Linked DNA regions of Homo sapiens: all the other regions are linked to region 1. Evidence: promoter capture Hi-C in 16 types of primary human blood cells and fetal thymus (Javierre and others, 2016). All regions are on one chromosome and are shown on one strand. Each heading gives the region's core, a stretch centred on a gene start or on the middle of the fragment in contact. The rest is flanking DNA. Distances are from core to core; before and after follow the strand shown.

The links. Contacts are between HindIII fragments. The CHiCAGO score rates a contact against its expected background, and 5 or more counts as called.
Region 2: a fragment that was not itself captured here is called in contact with the fragment with the promoter of NNAT in region 1 in 17 of 17 cell types (monocytes, naive CD8 T cells, activated CD4 T cells and 14 more); the score reaches 20.5 in monocytes.
Region 3: a contact is called between a fragment that was not itself captured here and the fragment with the promoter of NNAT in region 1, in 7 of 17 cell types (monocytes, M1 macrophages, M2 macrophages and 4 more). The highest score is 8.2, in monocytes.
Region 4: a contact is called between a fragment that was not itself captured here and the fragment with the promoter of NNAT in region 1, in 8 of 17 cell types (M1 macrophages, endothelial precursors, M0 macrophages and 5 more). The highest score is 10.5, in M1 macrophages.

The regions. Positions count from the first base shown.
Region 1 is chr20:37,517,094-37,523,757 of GRCh38, forward strand. NNAT (neuronatin) reads left to right here and starts at 4,157. Exons shown (of 3, transcript NM_005386.4): 1 at 4,157-4,310; 2 at 5,265-5,345; 3 at 5,574-6,597. The coding sequence starts at 4,239. The coding sequence ends at 5,666. It overlaps BLCAP (BLCAP apoptosis inducing factor), which reads right to left. Exons shown (of 2, transcript NM_006698.4): 2 at 324-2,257. The coding sequence starts at 2,081. The coding sequence ends at 1,818. RefSeq lists enhancers at 1,502-2,365, 2,366-3,229. The HindIII fragment of the contact is 15,256 bases long and covers 3,716-6,664 here.
Region 2 is chr20:37,197,471-37,204,134 of GRCh38, forward strand. It overlaps RPN2 (ribophorin II), which reads left to right. Exons shown (of 17, transcript NM_002951.5): 3 at 927-1,022; 4 at 1,580-1,755; 5 at 6,415-6,490. Among named protein-coding and RNA genes, the nearest start is that of MROH8, 21 kb to the left of the region's middle. The HindIII fragment of the contact is 680 bases long and covers 3,129-3,808 here.
Region 3 is chr20:37,216,673-37,223,336 of GRCh38, forward strand. The region is part of intron 9 of RPN2 (ribophorin II); the gene reads left to right. Among named protein-coding and RNA genes, the nearest start is that of MROH8, 40 kb to the left of the region's middle. The HindIII fragment of the contact is 3,903 bases long and covers 1,544-5,446 here.
Region 4 is chr20:37,246,918-37,253,581 of GRCh38, forward strand. GHRH (growth hormone releasing hormone) reads right to left here. Exons shown (of 5, transcript NM_021081.6): 5 at 4,169-4,314. The coding sequence ends at 4,296. Among named protein-coding and RNA genes, the nearest start is that of GHRH, 12 kb to the right of the region's middle. The HindIII fragment of the contact is 1,281 bases long and covers 3,283-4,563 here.

The DNA.
Region 1 (6,664 bases), core at 2,907-5,406:
CTGTCTTAAGTTGTTTGTCAAGGGATCGGTTACTCAAATCTCCTATGGAGGGAAACAATTTCAGGCAAGAAGCCATGGGAGCTGAGAAACGCAAATGTCTCATCTCTGAAAACTTTCAGACTCCCTCCTGTTCACCGCCTGTCCTGCCCCCTGCTCCCCCTCCCCCATCCCCACCATCTGCTCTCCAGAAAGCAGATCAAATTTTCAGGCTAAGGTACTCTGGCGCCAAAGACTCAGCCCCTCCATGCTTCCCCCTGCCCCCCACCAACTCCGAAATCCAACACCACGACCCAAATGGACTGCAGCCACATAAAACCACAAAGTAAAGTTTATAAAGCTTTATTAAACATTTCAAACAGCTGTGCAACGAACACACCAAATAAAAGCTCTAGAATAGCAGTCCAGACGTTTCACAAGTATGGCCTCACAGTCCCATTCCCTAGATGGACTGCCTCCAGTTCTGTTCTCTGCCTGGCCCATCTCTCTTTCCCCTCAGGCAAGAGAGAGATGGATGGATCAGACTGAAAGGACAGGCATGCTGATCTCCAGCAGGCAGGGGCCAGGAGAAAGTCTCGTTTGCCAACACTTGTTACTGAAGCGCAGAAAAAGCAGCAAGTGACAGTCACAAAGTCTTCCTGGGTATTCTTCATAATGTACAGTCTATATGCGCAGGAACGAAGAAGCTCCTGGCGGGAGGATGATGGCCACTGCTCCCCTCTGTCTTGTCTGAACCACCTCGGAGTCCAGTGTGCTGGTCACTCTGCAATCCCCATGCTAAATAAAAACTGTAGCGGCACCTACCATATATAGCTAGCTATTGCTAAACCTCAAAATCAGACCACGTTCGATAAAGCTTCTTTAAAAGGAATATACACATGTATTTGTACACACACACACACAGGGCACACCAAAAAATATCCAAACATCTATCAAGGGGATCAAGGCCGTTACGAAACACACAGGTACTCTCCCACTCACTCAGCTGGGGACTGCTAGAACTACGTGAACACACCATACTTCAATGCTGCAGAGCATGCACGGGAGACACAATGAGGCCCCCTCCTTGGGACAGTTGAGAAAGGCAGGAGGAAGGGCAAAGGAAGTGAGGCTGGGCGGGAAAGCTTGAGCCCAGACACCCAGGTGAAAGAGCAACATCTATCTGTTGCTTCCTTTCTTAAAAATGAAGTGGAGAAAATACTGAAGATTTGTGGACAACTAACAGTCAAGACATGTTTCTGTCTAGCCTGCTGAACAAGGAAAGAAGGATGAAAAAGCGAGGCTCTCGGGCGTCAGCAATCTCTTCAAATTCGAGATAAGTGCAAAAATGAGCCCTGTCTTGGACAGGTACTCCCCAAAAAAGGAAAAGGGTAGAAGAGAAATAAAGGGAAACCAGAAGAGGGACTGAGGAGTCAGTAACATTCTGGGAAGGAAGGAGACCCTGACAAGGAGGGGTCACAGAGGTGACAATGAGACTGGCATTTTATCTGCCCCAGGTCACATTGGGGCAGCTGACCAGGATGGACCCAGACTCCTCACAGTAATGAGGCGAGAGGGGTGGTCATGCGGCCAGCCAGGACCTAGATGGGGACAGAACACACACAACCACAAGACCACCCACGACTATAGGACTTTACAATAAAAGCACCGGTCAGTGCCATTATTCACATTGTAAGGATAAAACATCACAGGCCAAAAAGGCGCCGTCAGGAATGTGACACCCGCGAGGCTGCGGGATTTGAAACTCCAATGCTTTATGACCTATGTCAATGCCTCCCCTCCCGTCTTCTGCTTCCTTGGAAAGCTAACAGGGCAGGCCGTTAGGTGCCCACAACGCCGGGATCATGCGCCGATTCTGGAAGCGGGGAATCGGAGCAGTGGTACAGGAAACAGTTTCCCCAGCAGCTATAGCAGATAAGGAACAGGGCTGCCAGGAAAACCAAGGCACAAATTGTGCAAGGCTTCCGTTCCAGGAGGAAGCTGAGCAGGTAGAAGCCCATGAACATGGAGTGGCTGAACCACAGGGCGGGGTTGAGGGGCTTGGGGATGAGGAGGACGGGCAGCAGCCACTGGAGGCAATACATGATCTCTGCCGGGCAGGGCCTTCACCAAGGCTGCCGGGCACCGCTGCAGGAACCGACCTAATGGGAGCCAGCGGGCGCAGGCGGCTGCCCTCCGCTTTCTTCAACCCTCACTCTCCAGGAGCTGAGCCGCTGTGCTCTCTGGCTGTCAGCCCGGGATCACCAAGGCAGCAGGGATCCTGAAGAGAAAAGTCAACACAACAGACAAACAGACAAAGAACAGACAGACAGACAAAAAAAAAAAAAAAAAAAGAAAAAAAAAAAAAAAACAGGAACAGAATGTATACTTATTTGGGAAAATGGATCATGGTTAACAACAGCAAATGTGAAATGCCCTTTCCTCCCTGCCCACCCGTGAAAGTTCTACTCCTCTCCAAGTCACTAATTCGGGAAGCTTCCTGGGATGTCTCCCCGGGGCTTCTCCTGGGGGATCGGGGAGAGGGCTCTTTGGCACGGTTTCACACAGTGGGCTGGCTTTGCCTGGGCCCTGCCCAGCAGAGATCATGTATCGCCTCCTGGGGCTGCAGCCCGTCCTCAAGGGGCCCAGACCTCACAATACCGCCCAGTGGTTGCCAAAGGACGACCAAGGGCTCCCTGCTGTGCCCCCACGTGGTAAGGACAGGGTTCTGTATCTAGCATCTCTCACAGCCATAGGTGCTCAGGCACTAAGTGCAGAGTTAAAGCTGTTAGCGGGGCACTGCCGGCCACCAGACCACAGGCAAAGGATCCTGAGGCAGCTACAGCCTCGAAATATTTTAAGATGGCAGCCTAGGCTAAGCTTGCCTTTTTCAAACAGCCCAGCGTCACTTTGCCAGAATCTGCCAACTTCTCCGAAAGTCAATGTAGAAAAAAAGTCACTATGCTACTTTGTCCAAACTGAACTCGTTTGGATCATTACACCTCCATCTGCTGCTGGCACTGTATAGAACCTGACCTCTGGGAGCTTTTAATGAAAATTAATTTTCTATCCACATAGGGGCAAATGCCAGTTGGTCCCTGGGCCAGGCAGCTTGCTGGAAAGAGGTGCTTTCGGCTGGCTACCGGTGCGCGGGGACCACACTCACAAACCGCATTCCGGTCTTCCCGCCCGAAAATCCGCGCTGTGCGAGGGACCCACAAGACTGGCGGTCTAAAAGGGACCCGCCTCACTTGGAAACGGGGCTGCGGTAGCCACAACCCTCCGGTAGCGGTAGCGTAACCCCGTTCGGTGATCCAGCCGCACAGCGCAACGGGTACAAAGAACCCCACTGGCTAAGGCCGACCTACCAGGGCTTGGGGGAGGGGAGCGGAAGACTGAGGTCGAAACGACCTGTCCAGCAGAAAACTATCCCCAAGCATATTCCAACCACTTCTCCGTAGAGCTCATTCCTTCCGTGCATACGAAGGGCGCCAATCCTTCCTGTATCCCTCCTACAGATACCGGGTGACTACTGCTTTTGCGCCCAAAGCGCAGTGCTCTGGCTCAGCTCCCTACAGTAGCGACCTCCACCGCAGATTCTCATCTCCTCGCTACCGTAAGAGAGATGTAAAGAATCAGACGGGTTACGCGCTCAGGCACCCTCATGAAGCAGAGGACCTGGGCTTAAAACTCATTCAGTATCAGGAAAAGAGCGCCGAGCACGGGCCTATTATGCCAAAGCTTCTGAAAGGGGCACCACGTTTTTTGCTCTATGGGGCAGATGACCCCTCCCTAATTTCGGTTTTCCATCCATCCCCAAGGTAGGCTTTGGAGTGGCACCGGAGACTGAGCTCAAATTTGCAGGCCAGGGACTGGGGAGAAGGGCGCCACACTAAGAGACCTGCACCCCCATTCTCGCCCTGTACTCTACCCAGAGTCGTGGTACCCCTCCATTTTAAAGCAAAATCCAAAAGCAAGCACGGCGGAATCTTCTGGAAGGGGGCTAAGATGGAACTCAGGAGGCGGGGGTCGGTATGGAAAGAGCAGATGGATTATTTTTTTCCTCTCCTGGCGAATGAGGAGCGCCCCCAGCCACCCCTCCTCATAAACACCCCCCAAGGCGCGCATGCGCACTTAGGTGGCGGGCGGGTACTTAAGGCGCGGCCACCGCGGCTGCGGCAGTGCGCCCAACAGCGGACTCCGAGACCAGCGGATCTCGGCAAACCCTCTTTCTCGACCACCCACCTACCATTCTTGGAACCATGGCGGCAGTGGCGGCGGCCTCGGCTGAACTGCTCATCATCGGCTGGTACATCTTCCGCGTGCTGCTGCAGGTAAGTCTGACGGGGTTTCGGGTGGGAGAGGGTTCCCAACTCGCGCCCCTAGAACCCGCAAGACTGCGTCGCGATTGCCGCTTCCCGGACCCGTCCTATTCCGATTGCCGCGATCCTTGCCTGCCCAAGTGCCGCTGCCGGCACCGCGCGCCCCCTGCCCATTCCCTGCGCCGTCCTCCTCGCGCTGACCCTCCCTAGTGCGCCCGCGCCTGCCAGGGAACAAAGACTCGGGGCGCGGCGGGCGACCGCTGCGGACGATCACCCAGGCATTTAGCGACCTACGCGGTAAGAAAAACCCGCTACACCCGGACTCGACCCCAGGAGGGAGGCGGGGCACTACTGTGTTGAAAGACTTTACAGCTCGCAGAGTGAAAATTTTCCACCTTAAAAAATTGCGCATTGCGGAGAAATTTTATTTAAAAAAACATATAGCGCTTGCGGGGGTGGAACAAAAAATAAGTTAGAAAAAGGCACTTCTCAGAAAAAATAAAAATTACTTCGCAAAAAAAAAAAACCCTACAACGAATTAGAGAAAAAGTAGTTCACAGGAAAACAGAAAAACGCGCATTGCAGGAAAAATAAATCGGAGAAAAGCACTTGGCAGAAAAAAATGCATTAGATTAAAAACGCACTGCAGAAAAAAATTAGACAAGGGAGCTAACGGAAAAAAATGGATCGGGCAAAAACGCTTTAAAGAAAAAAATTAGAGGAAAAAGCCCCTCGAGAGAAAAATAGAAGGGGAAAAAAAGCACTTCCAAAAAAGGACAATTGCTTTACAAAAAAAAAAATAATAATAAAAAAAATAAAAAAGAGGCAAAAGCGCTTGGTGTAAAAAGAGATAAATCAGAAGAAAGCGCTTTGCCCATAAAATCATTTACCCTAAAAGCTCCCTTTGCAGGAAGAATTCCCTGCTAAAGGAATCCTTTGCCAAAGGAATCGCATATTTCCTTCAAGGTGTTCCTGGAATGCTGCATTTACTGGGTAGGATTCGCTTTTCGAAATCCTCCAGGGACACAGCCCATTGCGAGAAGTGAGGTATACCTAAGTTGTGGGTCCAATCAGCTTGCCGCCATGCAGCTCTCAGCACAGTTGGAAAAGCTCCAGCTGCCCTGACTCGTGGACAAGCTGCGCCCGCGCCCGCCTCTCCAGCCTACGCTGGATGGGCGGGCGGGGCAGGGGGTGGGGCGGGGGTGGGCACGGCAGCACCACAGACATGCTGTGGGTGCTCTCCACTAAGGGTGGGTCCTGGGTTTCTCGTCGCAGGTGTTCAGGTACTCCCTGCAGAAGCTGGCATACACGGTGTCGCGGACCGGGCGGCAGGTGTTGGGGGAGCGCAGGCAGCGAGCCCCCAACTGAGGCCCCAGCTCCCAGCCCTGGGCGGCCGTATCATCAGGTGCTCCTGTGCATCTCGGCCAGCACGGGAGCCAGTGCCGCGCAGGAATGTGGGGTCCCCTGTGTTCCCTCGCCAGAGGAGCACTTGGCAAGGTCAGTGAGGGGCCAGTAGACCCCCGGAGAAGCAGTACCGACAATGACGAAGATACCAGATCCCTTCCCAACCCCTTTGCACCGGTCCCACTAAGGGGCAGGGTCGAGAGAGGAGGGGGGATAGGGGGAGCAGACCCCTGAGATCTGGGCATAGGCACCGCATTCTGATCTGGACAAAGTCGGGACAGCACCATCCCAGCCCCGAAGCCAGGGCCATGCCAGCAGGCCCCACCATGGAAATCAAAACACCGCACCAGCCAGCAGAATGGACATTCTGACATCGCCAGCCGACGCCCTGAATCTTGGTGCAGCACCAACCGCGTGCCTGTGTGGCGGGACTGGAGGGCACAGTTGAGGAAGGAGGGTGGTTAAGAAATACAGTGGGGCCCTCTCGCTGTCCCTTGCCCAGGGCACTTGCATTCCAGCCTCGCTGCATTTGCTCTCTCGATTCCCCTTTCCTCCTCACTGCCTCCCAAGCCCACCCTACTCCAAAATAATGTGTCACTTGATTTGGAACTATTCAAGCAGTAAAAGTAAATGAATCCCACCTTTACTAAAACACTTTCTCTGAACCCCCCTTGCCCCTCACTGATCTTGCTTTTCCCTGGTCTCATGCAGTTGTGGTCAATATTGTGGTAATCGCTAATTGTACTGATTGTTTAAGTGTGCATTAGTTGTGTCTCCCCAGCTAGATTGTAAGCTCCTGGAGGACAGGGACCACCTCTACAAAAAATAAAAAAAGTACCTCCCCTGTCTCGCACAGTGTCCCAGGACCCTGCGGTGCAGTAGAGGCGCACCAAAACTTTGTCTCTTGTGATTTCTTTAGCGGCATCAACATACACTTCTAAGACTCAGCTGATGTGCCCACT
Region 2 (6,664 bases), core at 2,219-4,718, 320 kb before region 1:
ATAGGCTTGGAGGGTGGGGAAAAGTCAAGGATGGTTCCCATGTTTCTGGTTTGGGTTGCTGGATGCATGGTATTACCTGTGCATGAGCTGGGAAGTCCTGGTGAAGAAATAGAAGGTTTTAAGCTCATTTTCTTTTTTATTTTTATTTTTTTGGGGGACTGGGTCTCGCTCTGTCTCCCAGACTGGAGTGTAGTGGCATGAACATGGCTCACTGCAGCCTCAACTTCAAGCAGTCCTCCTACCTCAGCCTCCCAGGTAGCTGGGACCACAGGCATGCGCCACCTGCTCTGCTACTTTTTGAATTTTTTGTGGAGATGGGGTCTTACCATGTTACCCAGGCTGGTCTCAACTCCTGAGCTCAAGCAGTCCTGCCTCAGCCTCCCAAAGGCCTGGGATTACAGATGTGAGCCACTGCACCCAGCGTTAAGCTCATTTTAGATTTGTTGAGCCTGACTTGGCCTTGGTGACATCTAAGTGGAGATGCCAGTAAAGTTGGAATCAGAAGAGACTGCCACTTGGTAGCTTTGTCACCTTCATCAGGTTACTTGCCAATTTGGAGCCCCAGTTTCTTTTTCAGGTAAATGGGGATAGTGATAATCTCTACCAAAGGATCATGTTGTTAAAAGGAAGAGCTTCCTAAATACCCAGCACAGTCCATGGCCAGACAGGTGATCCGGGAAGTGGTTTCCTTCTTTCCTTTCTAAGGTTCGGAAGGACTCAAGCGCCTTCAGGCTTATTGCTCTTTGTACGAAGTGAGCAATTTTGGGTAATACCGTGTCCTATGGAAAGTAACTACTTAACTAAATTCATGTAGCTCATTCCTTAAGCCATCTATAATGGCTGAGAATGTTATCTAAAAACGCCTTTGCTTTTCCTGGTTCACTACATGTGTCACCACTTAACATTGACTTTTCCCCACTGTGTAGAAAGCATGTACCTACATCAGATCTAACCTTGATCCCAGCAATGTGGATTCCCTCTTCTACGCTGCCCAGGCCAGCCAGGCCCTCTCAGGATGTGAGGTGAGTCCGGGTTCCTACGCTGACAATGACTTTAACTATTTAAAGTACATTTTTAAAGGGGAGGAGTCATGTCAAACATCCTTTTTTTAATTATGAGAGTCCATTATTGTGAGTGGGAATTCCATTCCTGTGATTTTTTTTTTCCTTAAGAAAGTATAGTTTATGTTTCTCCTAAGTTTTTACTTTTCAAGGGTTTTAAATAACCTTTTTGTACAGTTTTTGCTTTTCTTCTGGTAGGTCTTGATTTTTTCCTTTCCATCTGCCTTTAACACGTAAAAATGTTCAAAGTGTACCCCCACACGAGGTTTCTGGAAGTCATTTTGTTGAACATAGGAGAACCATATAAGTAGAAAGGTAACTTGTCAGCATCTTTTCACATGGGAGTGTTGTACCGAAGTTTTGCAAACATTTCATCCTGGTGTCTGGGGATTAGAGGGGGATGAGCATGTGCGAGGCGGAGGTGACTTTGGCAGCTGCTCCGCATTCTGTCTTTGCCATGCCTGCCACAAATTGCCAAGACCTGTTCTAAAACTCTGTGTCTGCCAATTCTTTCTTAGATCTCTATTTCAAATGAGACCAAAGATCTGCTTCTGGCAGCTGTCAGTGAGGACTCATCTGTTACCCAGATCTACCATGCAGTTGCAGCTCTAAGTGGCTTTGGCCTTCCCTTGGCATCCCAAGAAGCACTCAGTGCCCTTACTGCTCGTCTCAGCAAGGAGGAGACTGTGCTGGCGTGAGTTGTCATCTCGAGCATTTCTCAGGCTTCATTTGTCTCGGGTCCTATCCGAAGAGGGCTCATTCATTGGTTCAGCAAATACTTTCTGGGCAAGTACTTGCAGTAAATACTTCCGTGTGCCAGGTGCTCTGCAAGGCACCGCAGACATGATTGCATGAAGGCAAGTAAGGTCCGTGTCCTCGTGGAGCTCACATGGACACAGTCTTCTGCAAGCCTCGCAGACAGAAGGCAAGCGCTGAGCCAGAGCATGAGCACACCACCACCTAGAGATCCAGTTGCCTTGTGCGGTTGGAGGGCTAGAGCAAGGGCAGATAACTGAGAAGGAGCCACGTGCATGTCTTGTTGAGGCTTGGCTAGGGCAGGATGACATGTTGGCAGTGGAGGCTCTGCAAAGTGGGGGCTCTCAGGATCCCTGGAAGTTGTGAAAGACAGCATCTGGTGGGTGAGGTGGTTGCTCAGAGGGTGGAGTATTCTAGGAATCAGACTCTACTACTCTGCAAAAGGCTTAGGTGAAGGAGAAGCACCTTTCCTATTTGTTATAAATGGAAATATTGTAACTTCAGGGTGTTTTTTGCTAAGCTCTTAAGTGATAATATATGTAGTTTTAAATTTTTATTTATTTAGAGACAGGATCTCACTCTGTCACCCAGGCTGAAGTGCAATGGTATGATCAAACTCACTGCAGCCTTGAACTCTGGGCTCAAGTGATTTTCCTACCTCAGCCTCCCGAGTAGCTGGACTACAGGTGCAAACTACCACGCCTAGCTAATTTTTTTTTTTTTTTGAGACGTGGTCTTACTCTGTTACCCAGGCTAGAGTGCAGTGACGCGATCTCAGTTCACTGCAACCTCCGCCTCCCGGGTTCAAGCAGTTCTCCTGCCTCAGCGTCTTCAGTGGCTGGGATTACAGGCGCGCCACCACGCCTGGCCAATTTTTGTATTTTTAGTAGAGACAGGGTTTCACCATGTTGGCCAGGTCTTGAACTCCTGACCTCAAGCAATCTACCTGCCTTGGCCTCCCAAAGTGCTGGGATTACAGGCGTGAGCCACAGCGCCCGGCTGCCCAGCTAATTTTTTTAGTTTTTAGTGGAGATGGGGCCTGTCTGTGTTGTCCAGGCCGGTTGTAATTTTTTTTTTTTTAACACTTAAACTGCTCCTTTAAAACAATATTTTTTTTGTCATTTTATTTGTGTTCACCGTTTCACTGCAAACCCTGAAGGAGGGTGTGGAGCACCGTTCTGGAATCCCGTTCGTTGTTTAGCAAGAGGTTGGTGATACCAAATCCCCCTTTCAAAACAGTGAGATTGTTTCCCAGGTTTTTTTGTTTGTTTTTTGTTTTTTTGCTGACAACCAGATTTTCTGTAAACTTAAAGCTTTGTTAAGGACAGGGTTCACAGGCAATTGACATTCCCTCTCTGTCCCTCCTCACACCCTCCCTATATTCACATGGTCAATCATCAGTGACTCTAGGGCTGACATTTTGTACACACTTTGTCCAGTGCTTGGCCCTTTTGGGCCTTTGATTTCAGGTGACATATTTTGATATCTGCTTTTAATCCCTCATGGGGAATGCTTCTCCAGTCACCATCATCTCATGCCATGATGCCACTGTTAGTGCCTGTGCCTTACTTTGATGCTACCTTCTACAAAAAAAATTCCCATTTCCTTCCAAGCAGAAGGGAAAATCCCCTTCCTCAAAACCCCAGAACCCCAGGAAGAAGTACAAGGGAAGTACGTCCACTTTGGAGTCAGACAGACTTAGGTTTGAACACCAGCTATTTCATTCCTTGTGTCTGACTTTGGCCAAATTTCTAACTTCTCTGAGCCTTGCCTTTAAAATGAAACCCATAATTCTTACATCAAAGCAACTGACAGGATTAAATGAGATAATAGGTGTGAAGACCCTAGCGCAGTGCCTGGTTCTTGGTGGGCGTGTAGGAAACGGAGTTCCTTTTCTGGACCATTTGTTTGTTAGGTCCCTAACAAACAGGTCCCCCTTCTTAGAGAGTTTGTTACTTCCTTCGTTGTTGTTATTTGTATGTTAGGTCATAAGCTTTTTTTTTTTTTTTTTTGAGACAGGGTCTCACTGTGTCATCTAGGCTGCAGTGCAATGCGATCATATTTAAAGCTCACTACAACCTCAAACTCTTGGGCGTGAGCGATTCTCCCACCTTAGCCTTCTGAGTAGCTGGGACTATAATCACATGCCACCACACCCAGCCATAAGCTTTACTTGCAGTGCTTAGAGAGCCTGGCACATGGTCTGTACCCAACGGAGTTAATAAAGGATGAAACTATACTTTTGTGTTTCTGTTGTCTTGTAGAAAGCTCATAGGTAGGAAGAACATACGCTTTGGAGCAGAAAGAACTGTGTTCAAATCCATTCTTCTACTCAACCTCTGTGACCATGAGTGGGTTGTTTAGCCCGCCTAAACCTCAGTGTTCTCATATGCAAACCTGGAGAATGTCTCGTAGGGTCATTGTGAAATCCAACTGGTAGGTTGCCTTATATTACTACTAATTTGCGCTATTAAAGGCAAGCTGATATAAATTAGAACTCTTCTGAATGGGCCTTCTATATTTAAATGGGCTTTTTCTAGGAAGTGTATATTTGTAAACTTGTCTTGAATGGAAAAAAAGAAAATACTTGTAGATTTGAATGAACCACCTGAGAAGATCTCATTGTAGTCTGTCATAAATCAATTTCTCTGAATCATCTGCTATATATTAGCAAGATAAGATCTGCTTTCTTAGTGTTCGAATACAGTACTATGCTCCAGAGAAAAAGAAATTGCTGGCTGGGGAATAAGTAATTAAAGCCAGTGACAAAACTTTCTAAAACTCAGTGGATTAATTTCATTCTAAAACTTCTGAGGTTGTTACCAGCACGGCACTCTCTCATTCCAAAGAGAAAAAAATGATATCTTAATTGAGAAGTTCTTTCTAGGCTATCTTAACTGCCTTTTCTGAGCACAGCGTTTATCACGGGCAGATGTGTGATTTTTGTCTTGTTTGGAAATTCAGGTTTCATTTTCTCAAGTGTATGATAACAGCAAGCATCCCATAGGTGTCGTTGAATACTCTGGGGCTTGTCTCTCTGTAAATTGCGACTCTGCTGTTTTCCAACTTGTCATCTTAATGGAATGAGTTTCCCATGGAGAGAATCTAAATTGTTATGTTCTTGACATAAGCAGACAGATTCTTGCTCTACATTCCCTGACATATTGACTTGATAAGTGGTGGTTTTACACAAGGGCCCAGTCATCTCTTAGGAATTAGGAAACCATTCGGGGTGGAAGCAGCAATCTGTTTAACCACCAGGGGGCCTCTCCTCTCCCAGTTTCACCCAGAAAAGCACCATTTATATTTTCCAAATTATCTGTATTAAGATAATAGAATCTAATAAGTCTTACATGTATACATCTATCATGTTCCATCTTAAAAAGCTTATCTTCCAGAATTATAGATAAAAATATATGAATAAGCCATAAAAAAGAATGAAGTGCAGATACGTGCTACAACATGGATGAGCCTTGAAAACATTCTGTTGAGTGAAAGAAGCCAGACATAAAAGGACACAGATTGTATGATTCCATTTCTATGAAATAGCAGAATAGGCAAATCCGTAGAGATAGAACATAGATTGCTGGTTGCTGAGGGCTAAGGGGAGACACAATGGGGAGAAACTGCTCGGTGGGTTTTATCTATTTTTTTTGGAGACAGGGTCTCACTCTGTCACTTAGGCTGAGTGCGGTGGTGCAATCACAGCTCACTGAAGCCTCAACCTCCCTAGCTCAAGTGATCCTCCTACCTCAGCCTCCTGAGTACCTGGGACTATAGGCATGTGCCACCATGCCCAGCTAATATTTAAATTTTTTGTAAAGATGAGGTCTCACTGTATTGCCCAGGCTGGTTTCGAACCCCCAGGCTTAAGTGATCCTCCTGCCTCGGCCTCCCAAAGTATTGGGATTACAGGTGTGAGCCACCGTGCTCAACCAATGGGTTTTATTTTAGACTGATGGAAATATTTGGGAACTAGACAGGTGGTAGTTGCACAACATTGTGAATGTAGTAAGCACCCCTGAATTGTTTGCTTTTTAAAATGGTTAATTTTATGTGAATTTTGCTTCAATCTTTTTTTTTTTTTTTTTTTTTTTCTGAGACAGGGTCTCACTCTATTGCTCAGGCTGGAGTGCAGTGGCTCACTGCAACCTCTGCCTCCTGGGCCTCAGCCTCCCAAGTAGTTGGGACTACAAGCACACGCTACCATACCTGGCTCATTTTTAGTATTTTTAGTAGAGGTGGGGTTTCACCATCTTACCCAGGCTGGTCTTGAACTCCTGGGCTCAAGGAATTTGCCTGCTTCAGACTCCCAAAATGCTGGGATTACGGGCGTGAGCCACTGCGCCCAGCCCAATGCCCACGGTTCTTCTTGCCAGTTCTGTTGCCTGGGTTGCCTTCTCAGCTGTGATGATCTTTTCCAGGTTTTGTCACATCTGTCCTAACTGGATTATAAGTAAACTCCTTAAAGGCTGAGACCAACTTGTACTTCTAAAGAACAAGAGTAGGATATTTGTGAAAGTGTCCAAGTACGGGAAGGGGTGAGTGGATGAAACAAGACTTGCCATTCATTGGGGTTCTACTCTTTACCTTCCAGAACAGTCCAGGCTCTGCAGACAGCATCCCACCTGTCCCAGCAGGCTGACCTGAGGAGCATCGTGGAGGAGATTGAGGTGTGAATCTTTTGCCAAATGCATCTCCCAGCTCCTGTCTTTGACACTCTGCAGAAGAATCTTGCAGATAGCCATGCATGATCTGTTACTACAGGTTACATTGCTTCTTATATCCATGGCACACTTGTGTTCTTTGTATTAAGGTATTGTGTCCTGAGGAATATTTGTGCCTAT
Region 3 (6,664 bases), core at 2,245-4,744, 300 kb before region 1:
GCTGGTCTCCAACTTTTGGCCTCAAATGATCCGCCTGCTTTGGCCCACCGACGTGTTGGGATTACAGTCGTGAGCCACTGCACCTGGCCCTCCAGTGTCTTTTGAACATTTTTAAAGTTGTTTTCCCCCTTATATTTAAGGCTTCGGTCTATCTGAAGTTCATTTTTGTTGCTGTAGTATTTTACACCCTTTTCTATAATTGTACTTATTGCATTATATTACCATTGTTTGTTTATATGCATTGCTTTTTCTTTTTCTTTTTCTTTCTTTTTTTTTGAGACAAGGTCTCATTCTACCACCCAGGCTGGAGTGCAGTGGCGTGATCATGGCTCACTACAGCCTTGACCTTCTGGGCTCAGGTGATCCTCCCACCTCAACCTCTCAGGTAGCTGGGACTACAGGCATGCACCACCATGCCCAGCTAATTTTTGTATTTTTTTCTAGAGACTGGGTTTTGCCATGTTGCCCAGGCTGCTCTCGAACTCCTGGGCTCAAGCGATCTGCCCACCTTTGCCTCCCAAAGTAGTGGGATTATAGGCGTGAACCACCACCTGCATTGCTTTTTCACTGGGCTGAGAACTCCTATGGGTGAAAACTAAATATTATTATTATTATTATTATTATTATTCTTTTTTTTTTGAAACAGAGTCTCGCTCTGTCACCAGGCTGGAATGCAGTGGCGCAATCCCGGCTCACTGGAACCTCCGCCTCCTGGGTTCAAGTGATTTTCCTGCCTCAGCCTCCCGAGTAGCTGGGGCTACAGGCACGCGCCACCATGCCCAGCTAATTTTTGTATATTTAGTAGAGACGGGGTTTCACTATGTTGGCCAGGATGGTCTTGATCTCTTGACCTTGTGATCCGCCTGCCTCGGCCTCCCAAAATGCTGGGATTACAGGCGTGAGCCACCATGCCCGGCCTAAATCTTATTTTTTCAGTGCTTGGTTTCCATTTAACATTACTTAGAGGAAGAAAAGGATAGAGTGGTCTAAAGATGTTTTTCCACATTGCAGGCCCTTCAGAACTCTGGCAATTCATCTTCCAGACTTAGCTTTTTTTTTTCTTTTTTCTTTTTTTGAGATGGAATCTTGCTGTCACCCAGGCTGGAGTGCAGTGGCACGATCTTGGCTTACTGCAACCTCCGCCTCCACCTCCCGGGTTCAAGTGATTCTCCTGCCTCAGCCTTCTGAGTAGCTGAGATTACAGGTACACGCCACCATGCCTGGCTAATTTTTTTGTATTTTTAGTAGAGACGGGGTTTTGCCTTGTTGGCCAGGCTGGTCTCAAACTCCTGACCCTCAGGTGATCTGCCTCGCCTCGGCCTCCCAAAGTGCTGGGATTACAGATGTGAACCACTAGGCCCGGCCAAGAGTTAGCTTTTATTTATTGATTTAATAACAGCTTTATTGAGGTATAATTCTCATACCATAAAGTTTACCAATTAAAAGTATGTAATTCAGGCTGGGCATGAGCCACCACGCTTGTAATCCCAGAACTTTGGGAGGCTGAGGTGGGAGGATCGCTTGAGCCCAGGAGTTAGAGACAAGCTTGGGCAACACAGGGAGATCCCATCTCTACCAAAAATTTAAAAATAAATTAGCCATGTATGGTGGCATGTACCTGTCCCAGCTACTTAAGAGGCTGAGGCAAGCGGATCCCTTGAGCCCAGGAGTTTGAGGCTGCAGTGAACTATGATCACACTACTGCACTCTAGCCTGGGCAACAGAGTGAGACCTTGTCTCAAAAAAACAAAAAGCCTGGGCGCAGTGGCTCACACCTATAATCCCAGCACTTTGGGAGGCCGAGGTAGGTGGATCGCCTGAGATCAGGAGTTCGAGACCAGCCTGGTCAGCATGGGGAAACCCCGTCTCTGCTAAAAAAAAAAACAAAAAAAACAAAACTATGCAATCCAGTGTTTTTAGTATTTTCACAGACTTGTGCAACCCTTGCCACAATGCCATTCCAGAATATATTTATCACCCTGGAGAGCAATGCTATATCTTTTAGTGGGCACTCCTCATTCTCTCTTCCTACTTTCTGCTTTCTGTCTCTGTGGTTGCCTATTTGGGACATTTTGTGTAAATGAAATCATACAATAGGTTACCTTTTGTGTCTGGCTTTTTTGTTTTTTCACTTAACATAATACTTCTAAGGTTCATCCATGTTGTAGCATGTATTAGTACTTTATTTCTTTTTATGGCAAAATAATATTCCATTGTATGGATATATCACATTTTGTTTACCGACTTATCAGTTAATGACATTTGAGGTATTTCTCTTTTTTGGCTCTTATGAGTAATGCTGCTGTGAACATTTGTATATAACTTTTTGTTTGAACACTTGTTTTTGGTTCTTTCAGGTATATGCTTAGGAATAGAATTCCTGCGTCATATGGTAACTCGGTGTTTCACTTTTCAAGAAACTAACAAGTTTTCAAAGCAGCTGCACCATTTTACATTTCTACCAGCAATGTGTGAGGGTTCCAATTTTACTACATCCTCACCAACACTTGTTATTATCTGACTTTTTGATTTTCGCCATCGTAGTGGGTATAAAGTGGTGTCTCATTATGGTTTTGATTTCCATTTCTCTGATAGGTAATAATGTTGAGTATCTCTTTATGTGCTTATTGGTCTCTTGCATATCTTCTTTAGAAGAATGTCTATTCAAATCCATTGTCCATTGAAAAAAATGTTTTTGGTCTTTTTTTCTTCCTTCTACAATCTATACACCTCTTATTTCCTTTTATTTATCTTTTTATATTATTGAGTTGTAAGGGTTTCTCTGGTTAGAGGTTCCTTATTAAATACATGATTTGCAAATATTTTCTCACAGTCTGAAGGTTGTATTTTCACTTTCATGATGTTGTCTTTTGAGGCACAAAAAATCTTAATTTTGATGAAGTCCAGTTTTAAAATGTTTTGTTGTTGTTGTTTGTGCTTTAGGTGTCATGTCTAAGATGCCATTATGTAATCCAAGGTTAAGAAGATTTACTACTATGTTTTCTTAAAAGAATTTTATACTTTTGGCTCCTACCCTTAGGTTTCTGATTCATTGTGAGTTAATTTTTGTGTATGGTGTGATGTAGGGGGTCCAGTCTTCTTTTGCAGTTGTCCTAGACCCATTTGTTGAAAAGGCTGTTCTTTCCCTAACGAATTGCCTTGGCACATACATCCTTGTAGGAATCACTTGACAATAAATGTAAGGGTTGATTTCTGGACTCATAATTCTATTTCATTAATCTGTATTGTCCTTATGCCAGTGCCACGCTGTCTTGATTACTGTAACAGCTTGGCATTTTGTAACATCAAATCTGGTGTTTGTCCAAGTGTTTCTGTGATTGTTGGAAAAATTATCTAAGTACAAAATAGCAGAAATGGCTAATAGCTCTTGTTCATGCAATGATAATAAGCCCCCATTGAGGCCATTTACTCTCCTTTTCCTCCCTAGTGATGGAGTAAGCATTACAAAATCTTCTCTCTTCCTCCTTATTACATTAGAGGTGTGTGTGTTTGTGTGTGTGTGTGTGTGTGTGAGTGTGAGAGAGAGAGAGAGTCGGCTTTGACCTTTGCCGTATATGCAACTTTTCTTTGTAATTTCAGTAATAATCACACTTAGAGCCTCAGAGCAGGTCATTGGGTCCTGTTTGTCCTCCCAAGAAATGCTCGACATTGGTCAGAGTGCATTAACGGTGGTTTGGTGTGGAAGTCCTGTAATAGCCCTCATTGACATTGGACTGGCTGTCAGGGGAAGCATCGGTTTTGGACGCTCTCATTAGCATTAATTGCCCCTAATGCACCATCATTTTTGACAGTAATAAGCTAAACAGGGGTGTTATTACTCCCAGCAGAAAGACTGCATTTCCTGGCGTTAAAACATTTTTTGAGATGTATATGGCATGTGGTGCAGGCAAAGAAAGGAATAGCATGATCCAGTGTAAAGCAGGCTTAGCTGCATTTAAAGTGGAGAAATAAGTCCCTTTCCTATTATAAAAACGAATCCTGCATTGTTAGTTGGAAGGAAGAAGCAGCTAATCAACAGGGATCCTACACTGAACTCTTTAAAAGAGGGCTTTGGAAAAAGTTACGATTTTTATTTCTAAATTTGCTTTAAAAGAGTAGCATAAAAATGCTTTGCTTTTGAGTGTTTCCAGAGACCCATTTATAGTGAGATTTTAGGAGCAGAAGGATTTGTTTTAAACTGTTCCCTATTTAGGAACAGCCCTACGGGTGTTTATGTGCAACAATGAAAGCTGTAACTTAGGAAACCTTTTAAAATTGGGGCTGAGAGCAAACCAAGAATGATGCAAGTTCACTGCAGTTTGCCCTTTGCTCACTCCATGTATCTGCATTGTCTGGGGATGCTCAGGATGTCTTTAGAACACACACGAAGCTGGATCCTGATTAGCTGGCCTTGGTGGCCAGTTAGTGCTGAGAGTTTACAGCCAGGATTCTAAGTGAAAACCTAAAAGCTGATAGCTTCCTTATCACTATCATTAGGAGACACTGAAGACTTTACACAATTCTTTTTTTTTTTTTTTTTTGAGGCGGAGCCTTGCCCTATTGCCCAGGCTGGAGTGCAGTGGCATGATCTTGGCTCACTGCAACCTCTGCCTCCTGGGTTCAAGCCATTTTCCTGTCTCAGCCTCCTGAGTAGCTGGGACTACAGGCGTGCATCACCATGTCTGGCTAATTTTTTTGTATTTTTAGTAGAGACAGGGTTTTGCCATGTTGGTCATGCTGGTCTCAAACTCCTGACCTCAAATGGTCCTCCTGCCTCGGCCTCCCAAAGTGTTGGGATTACAGGCGTGAGCCACCACGCCCGGCCTAGTCTGTTCTTTTTAATTGCTCCATAGTAATTAATAATATGCATGTATCTTTCTTTATTTAGCTAGTCTTCTGTTTATGGACATTTCAGTAGGATGATGATTTCAAGATCACATTTACAGATTAAATGAATGAGTTCTTAAGAGAATGAGTTAGAGAAATAGGGAATTACCTAGTTAATCTTGATGAAGATTGCAGAGTAGTTAACTCTGAAGACAGATTATTTTTATAGCATGGAGTATTATTGCTAATCCTCCTACCTCTCCCAAAATTGGAGGGCTGCTAAGCCCATCAAGCCTCCTCCTCAGTCTTCTTGCTATGGAATGTTTCCTACTCCCCATTTGGGGCCACCCATGGGCAGACTTGGGTCACAGTTCCTTCTGTGCTTTCATAACACTTTGTACATCCATTAAAGCAGCAACCTGGTTTATTATAATTATGGTTTGTGTACGGGACAGGAAGGATTTCTTGCCATCTCTGTATATTCCCTGAATGGGGAAAGTGCTCTCAGCAGGTGTCAAATCAAAGCTCTGTGGCTACTTCTTTGCCTGAGCCTTCCATTCCAGTTTGTTTTCCAGTGGAAATGATGTCAGTACTTGTCGGGTTGTGTTTTTTGCAAGAAAGCTTGCTCTGGTTCTGAGCCTTGCGTGAGTTGTAACGCTGTTAACTCAGCAGAGAGCCCAAAGAGCCAAAGTGAGGCTCCTAGCTCCCTTCTTGGGGGTGTCTATTCAACCTGATGGGCCATCGTCCCTCCTCCTCCACTGCCATAATTTCACCCAGTTGCCTAGACTCAATGACAGGCAATGATCCTAAATATAGTTCTGCTATGAATTCATAGGTGGCTGTGAATTCAAAAGTAGATGGTAATATCCTTACAGCTTCTGGTAATAAACCTTTACAGTTTTTTTTTTTAAAGCAAAACAACACCCCTATTCAACATGATAATTGAGGCTGTTGTCATAAAATAGTTATTACAGAGGCAGGAAAGAAGGCCGTTAGAAGGAATTACTTGATAGGTATCTTTATTTTTAATTTTTCTTCTTTGCCCTTGATTTGAGGTTGTCACACCTCGATATGGTATTTCAGAAAACTGCCAGAGCTATCCTTCAATTATTTGCCCAGCCCGTTATCTCTATTCCTTGATCCTGACTTAGACTATAAACCAGTGGATTTGGCAAGGATTTCCTTAAGTGTTACATTCAAACCTATCAAATATTTGGAAGGCTTACAGATCTGTTTGCACATAAAAGCGCCTTGGGTTTGCATAATTTGCACATTCAAACTTGGGTTTTAATTCAGAAATTTAACATGTTTTCTGTCTCTTTTGGATATTTACATTGATTTTAATCTAATTTTAAAATTTCTCATTTATTGGCATTAGCCCCTCTTTGTGAAGATGTTTAAGGGACATACAGAATTCAAACACTTTAAGAGTCAACATGGATTGGTTTGTGCTTATAACAAACTCCCAATCTCAGTGGCTTAAAACAATGAGGGTTTATTTTTTCCCCACGCTAGATTCTTTAGGTGGTCAACTGGAGGCTCTGCTTCATGATATCTTTGCTCCAGGACCCTGGCTGAAGGAGCAAGCATCTGGACATTGTGTCCATGTCAGAGGAAAAGAGAGAATCACACATTGATTCTTAAAGCTTTCACTTCTGCCCACATTTCATTGGCCAGAGCAAATCATGTGGCCACACTTGACTCCATGGGGGCAGGGAAGTAGAATTCTACCACATGCTCAGAAGGAGAATGAGAAGTACTTGGGCAACAGTACAGATAACTACCATGACTGTCTAACAAGGAGCTGAAGTGCATGGATTCTGAGTCAGAGTGCCTG
Region 4 (6,664 bases), core at 2,673-5,172, 270 kb before region 1:
ATAGCAAGAGTTGGGTAATCACTGATGCGGGAGCCTCGGGTCAGTGGCTCCAGTTCTCTGCTTCCCTTTATAGCAAAATTTCTCAAAAAAATAATCTCTACCAGCGCTGTCCAATAGAAATACAAAGCAAGCTACATAGGTGATTTTACATTTTCTGGAAACCAAGATAAAAAAGTTAAAAAGAAACAAGTGAAATTAATTTTAATATATTTTATTTAACCCATATATCTAAAATATCATTTTAATATGTGATCAGTATAAAAATACTGAGGTATTTTGTATTTTTTCATATTAAATCTGAGTGATTCCTACTTGGACCTTTAATCTGTGGGGTGTTTTGTTTTATTTATTCTTTTTTTGGAGACAGAGTCTCACTCTGTTGCCCAGGCTGGAGTGCAGTGGTACAATAATAGTTCACTGCAGCCTCAAACTCCTGGGCTCAACAATTCTCCCACCTCAGCCTCCCAGGTAGCTGGGACTGCAGGTGTGTGTCACCACGCCTGGCTAATTTTTTTTGAATTTTTATTTGTAGAGGCAGAGTCGAGCTATGTTGCCCAGGCTAGTCTTGAGCTCCTATCCTCAAGTGATCCTCCCTCCTTGGCTTCCCAAGAATGCTGGGATTGCAGGCATGAGCCACCATGCCCCAGCCTAAATCCAGTGTTTATTTTATACTTAAAGTACATCTCAGTTTGTACCAGCTACATTTCAAGTGTTCGTTAGCCACATATGTCTAGGGGCCACCCTATTGCACAGCCAAATCTATACTCACCAGCTCTGATTCCTCTTCTCCCATTTCTCCCACTCAAATCAGACTTTGGCCTTCACTACACCTGATTTCTCTTTGCCAAGGTCATCAGTGGCTTCCATGGTCACTTCCATGGTCAGTTCTAAACTGACTTGTCCCATCAGCAGCATTTAGCAGAGCAGATCACCCCTTTCTTCTAGAAACACTCTTCATTGGCTTCTGGGATTCTTCTTTGAAGGAGTTTTCCTGTTACTTCACTGCCTGCTACTTCTCAGCCTCCTTTGCTGGTTCCTCATCTTTCCTCAAAACTTTTTTTTTTTTTTTTTTTTCAGACAGTCTTGCTCTGTCGCCCAGGCTGGAGTGCAGTGGTGTGATTTTGGCTCACTGCAAGCTCCGCCTCCCAGGTTCAAGTGATTCTCCTGCCTCAGCCTCCTGAGTAGCTGGGATTACAAGCGTGCACCACCATGCCTGGCTAATTTTTGTATTTTTAGTCTAGAGACAGGATTTCGTCATGTTGGCCAGGCTGGTCTTGAACTCCTGGCCTCAAGTGATCCACCTGCCTTGGCCTCCCAAAGTGCTGGGATTACAGGCGTGAGCCACTGCACCCGGCCTTCTTCTAAACTTTAAATGTAGGGTTTCCAGGGGATCAGTCCCTGGACTTTACTCTTCCTATATTCTTCCTTAGTAATCTAACTAGTCTTTTGACTTTAAAGACCGACCGTCTAAATGGTGACAACTACCAGCCAAACCAGCTGTCCAGACCTCTCCCCTGAACTCAGGGGACTCTCTCCTGAACTAGGACCTGTACAGCCATGTGCCTACTCAACTTCCTCACTTGGACCTTTCATAGGCACCTCACACTCAACATTCAAACCTAAACTCTTAATATTCCCCCAACCCCCAAAGCTGCTAAGTGGCAACTCCATCCTCCCATCCTCCATCCTTGGGCCAAAAACTCAGGAGTCATTCTTGACTTCTCTCCAATCCCTACACCCTGTCTATCAGCAAATGGCTTCCGCCCTAAGAATGTATCTAGAGTTTGACCATTTCTCAGAGTGATTTTCAGCATAGGTCACAGCATGTCATTCTTCTGCTTAAACTCCACCATGGCTTTCATCTCACCAAGTTTGGGATCCAAATCCTTACTGTGACCTTGTTAAAGAACATTTATGGGAGGCCGCTGTTTTGAACTGAGCTCTTGCACTAGGCGGGCCCCAACAAACCAGACCCAACCAGAATAGAGTCACCCATGACATACTAAGTGCCATGTCATCAAACAGAACTTTAAAATGGTCCAGTTTTCTGAAATATGAGATTCACAGCAGCCAATCAGAAGGGGTCCAGTTGGGACAGGCACAGTGGCTCACGCCTGTAATCCCAGCACTTTGGGAGGCTGAGGCGGGTGGATCACCTGAGGTCAGGAGTACGAGACCAGGCTGGCCAACATGGTGAAACCCTGTCTCGACTAAAAATACAAAAATTAGCCAGGCGTGGTGGCAGATGTCTGTAATCCCAGCTACTCGGGAGGCTGAGGCAGGAGAATTACTTGAACCCAGGAGGCAGAGGTTGCAGTGAGCTGAGATCATGCCACCACACTCCAGCCTGGGTGACAAAGCAAGACTCTGTCTCAAAAAAAAAAAAAAAAAAAAAAAAAGGAAGGGGTCCAGTCTACTTTAGCTTGCATAATCAGGAAGTCCCCTCTGCTTTAACCCCAGAAGGAAGGTAACTTTGAAATGACCAATCTGCTTTTCGTGCCCTGTTTCTGCTTCTTTAGCCCCTTTTTGCCTGTAAGGCCCACTCCCACTCAGCTTATCAGAGTCCCCCTCAGGATGCTGCCCAGTTCATGAACTGCTAACAAAAGCCAATTCAATCTTTAAAACTCTATTTGGGTTGGGGGTGGTGGCTCACACCTGTAATCCCAGCACTTTGGGAGTCTGAGGCAGGTGGATCACCTGAGGTCAGGAGTTCAAGACCAGCCTGGCCAACCTGGCGTAAACCTGTCTCTACTTAAAAAAATACAAAAATTAGCTGGGTGTGGTGGCACACGCCTGTAATCCCAGCTACTCGGGAGGCTGAGGCAGGAGAATCATTTGAACCCTGGCGGTGGAGGTTGCAGTGAGCCGAGATCGTGCCAGTGCACTCCAGCCTGGGAAACAGAGTGAGACTCCATCTCAAAAAACAAACAAACAAACAAACAAAAAAAACACTAAAGAGTCAATTTGTTCCTTTTTTTTTTTTTAACACCTCCAAGTGTCCCCATGAGCCGGCCTCCTGCTCCTCCAGGACTCTTTTCTTTCCACTGACATCCTTGCTCTGGCCCAGGTAGCCACATTGATCCCCTTGCTAGTCCTTCCACACTGCTGCCTCTAAGCCTTTGTTGAGTTTTCACTCTGCCTGAAATGTTCTTTACTCTGATATTTACAAAGCCAACTCCCTCTCTTCCTCAGGTCTTTACTCAAATGTCACATCATCAGTGAGGCCTTCACATATACACAGTGTAGATCAAATTATACCCCCAGCACTCCCTGGCCCTTTAAAGCTTTATCCTTTGCACTTGCCAACATCTGACATATTCTATATTGACTTGTGTTTATTATTCTCTCCCCCACCACACACGCATTGGAATATAAGCTCTATAAGGTCAGGGACTTTGTTCATGACTATCTCTCCAGTGCCCAGAACAGTACCTGGCACAGAGTGGGTATTCTATAAATGTTTGCTGAATGAAGGCCGGGTGCAGTGGCTCACGCCTGTAATCCTAACACTTTGGGAGGCTGAGGCAGGCAGATCACCTGAGGTCAGGAGTTTGAGACCAGCCTGACCAACATGGAGAAACCCCATCTCTACTAAAAATACAAAATTAGCTGGGCGTGGTGGCACATGCCTGTAATCCCAGCTACTCAGGAGGCGAGGGCAGGAGAAACACTGGAACCTGGGAGGCGGAGGTTGTGGTGAGCCAAGATCATGCCATTGCACTTCAGGCTGGGCAACAAGAGTGAAACTCTGTCTCAAAAAAAAAAAAAAAAGTTTGTTGAATCAATAAGTGGTATTGCTTATAGAAGAGCAAATCACACGTGGGTGAAGGATGACTTTGATCGAAGTTAGTTGAATGTGGTTAAGAGCTGGTTCTGAGTTGGACTTGCCTGGATTTGAATCCCAGCGCTCTCATTTGCACGGTGTGACTGTGGGCAATTTGGTTACACTTTCTGAGCCTCAATTCCTTGTCTGTGAAAGGAGGAGGATACCAGTACCCTCCATCAGCCTGTGTAAGGAGCATATGAGATCCTATGCATGAAGCTGCCTGGTTTGCACTCTGCGTGCTTGGTAAATGTTAGCTTTAAAAAAAATTACACCTCGTAATACCACTTTGGGAAATGTAACTATGTAAAACACATAAAAAATTAGGCTGAAGAGAAAAGAACATTTAAATGCACACCGGTATGGGGGAATTTTATTGTATTTTCAAAGGAAAAAGTGGGTCAGAAATGAGAGGATTAACTGGATCCAGTTGCATTTTGGCTACAGGTAGCCCGGGTCACAGGAGGAATCTTCATCCCTGGGAGTTCCTGCTGCAGAAAGAAAGATCAAGCTCAATCCGGGGAATTGAAGTAAGGGTGGCTAGAGTGGGATGCATGGAACCAGGGTGACGGGTGCTCCCGTGACAGGAGCTGGCCTTTTGGATTCCAAAAGAGGCAGTGTGGGGTGGAGGGAAGGATGCGCAAGCATGCCAGCAAGGCGAGTCCCAGGCTTAGCCCCTGCTCTCTGCTCTGCCAGCCAACTCCCACCGAGACCCTGGGCCAGTCACTTCGCCTTGAAGAAGCTTCCTCTAATCCCCAGACAGGCTCAGCGTTCTCCCAGCCTCACCATCACCACTCCCCAGCATCTCTTCCCATTCATCACAATGAAGTAATTGACTGTACAAGAACGTGTCTAGTTCCTTGCTGCTTCGGTGTGTTATGAATTCCATGAGAGCAGGGGTCGCTGCTGTCCTGTACCCTGCTATGCCTCTGGTCCAGAGTGTGGCATGTCATAGTCACTGGATGGTCTTTACAGGGGTGGGAAGATGGCTAAACCCGAGCCTCAGTTTCCTTACAGGGCTGTTACGTGGACACAATGTATGATGGCTGCAAAAGTGTGCCATCTGTCACATGGCTCTACTCTGCACTCTAAAGCAGGAACTTATTCCTGCTCACCAGTGATATCCTGGTATTTGCAGCAGTTGAGCTGGAGGGGGAACAATGGCTATAGCAGCCTTCGGGGCCCTTCCTGCCAGCTCTGCGGGCTCTGTGATTTCAATCTCCGTGAAGCCTCTGGCTTTTAACTCGCGGGAACAAAGCCTGCATTCTTAGGATTAGCCCTCCATGGAGCCATCCACCCTACTGGGGCCTGATGAGAGCCATAGCAGGTGAACAATTACTTAATCCCAGCCTGCAAGGCACAGAGGAGGCCTTCTTCTTAGAGACATTATTTTTGAACTCTTGTCTTGCGGACCCTAGAGATGGTAAGAGCTAACCCCTCCTTTCACAGAGTCGAAACGAAGAAGTGTGTTGCTGTGCCGCTAGTTGCAGAAACAGGCCTGGGGCCCAGGTGTTCTTCCCGCCTCCCAGACTGGTTGTCGCCTCTCCTGTCATCTGCCGTAGGCCTGGTGCTGCTTGTAGGTGGTGAAATCTCTGGGCTGGTGGTGTCTAATCGGGTTGGGAAGAAGGTGAGAGAGGCCATGGAGCGCTCTGCTGGGAACTGGATTTGCTTAATAGCTTGGACCAGAAGTGCCCAGCAGAGCCACACTGGGACCTGCTTGTGCTCGCAGTTAAATCAGGCTCTAGGCCGGGTGCGGTGGCTCATGCCTGTAATCCCAGCACTTAGGGAGGCCATGGCAGGTGGATCACCTGAGGTCAGGAGTTCGAGACAAGCTTGGCCAGCATGGTGAAACCCCATCTCTACTAAAAGTACAAAAAATTAGCCGGGCGTGGTGGCGGGTGCCTGTAATCCCAGCACTTTGGGAGGCCATGGCAGGTGGATCACCTGAGGTCAGGAGTTCGAGACAAACTTGGCCAGCATGGTGAAACCCCATCTCTACTAAAAGTACAAAAAATTAGCCGGGCGTGGTGGCGGGTGCCTGTAATCCCAGCACTTGGGGAGGCCAAGGAGGGTGGATCACCTGAGGTCAGGAGTTCAAGACCAGCCTGGCCAACATGGTGAAACCCTGTCTCTACTAAAAGTACAAAAATCAGCCAGGCATGGTGGCAGGCGCCTGTAATCCCAGCTACTCGGGAGGCTGAGAATCACTTGAACCCTGGAGGCAGAGGCTGCAGTGAGCCGAGATCACGCCACTGCACTCTAGCCTGGGTGATGAGAGTGAAACTCCATCTCAACAACAACAACAAATCAGGCTCTAAACCCCAGCAGAGTTTCTCCAAACAACCACGACATTTTTGGGAAACTTTGCCCATGAAGTGGGGGCTTTGTGCAAAGAAGTTCCAGGGAGGCAAAACAGGTCTGGGCCTGCCATTCCCTGACTTGGGGCCAGCTGCCGCCCCGTCTTTGCCTCACTTTTCCTCCTCTGTAGACTCCCAGGAGAAACGTGAGGGCCAGTGAGCTGGGGAACGACAGTCATCACGTCTCTCGTCTGCTGATCGTGTGTCTGCGCACACTCATCTACCACAGGGTGTGGGAGGGCTGGTCTGTCTTTGGCTTGATAGTTTTTTGAACTTGGCAAGGGAACCAGAGCATGCCTGTCAGTTCACCTGCAGCCGAATCCTTGGGAACACCTGTTAAAATTCAGATTTCTGGGTCGTATCACGGAACCATTTGGTGAGTAACATTTTTGGGCATGGACACTGAGCCTGGCCTCTGGCTCCGCACTGGGATACAGCCATGGATAAGATGCGGTCTCCATCAGACACTTTCCACCCTTCATGA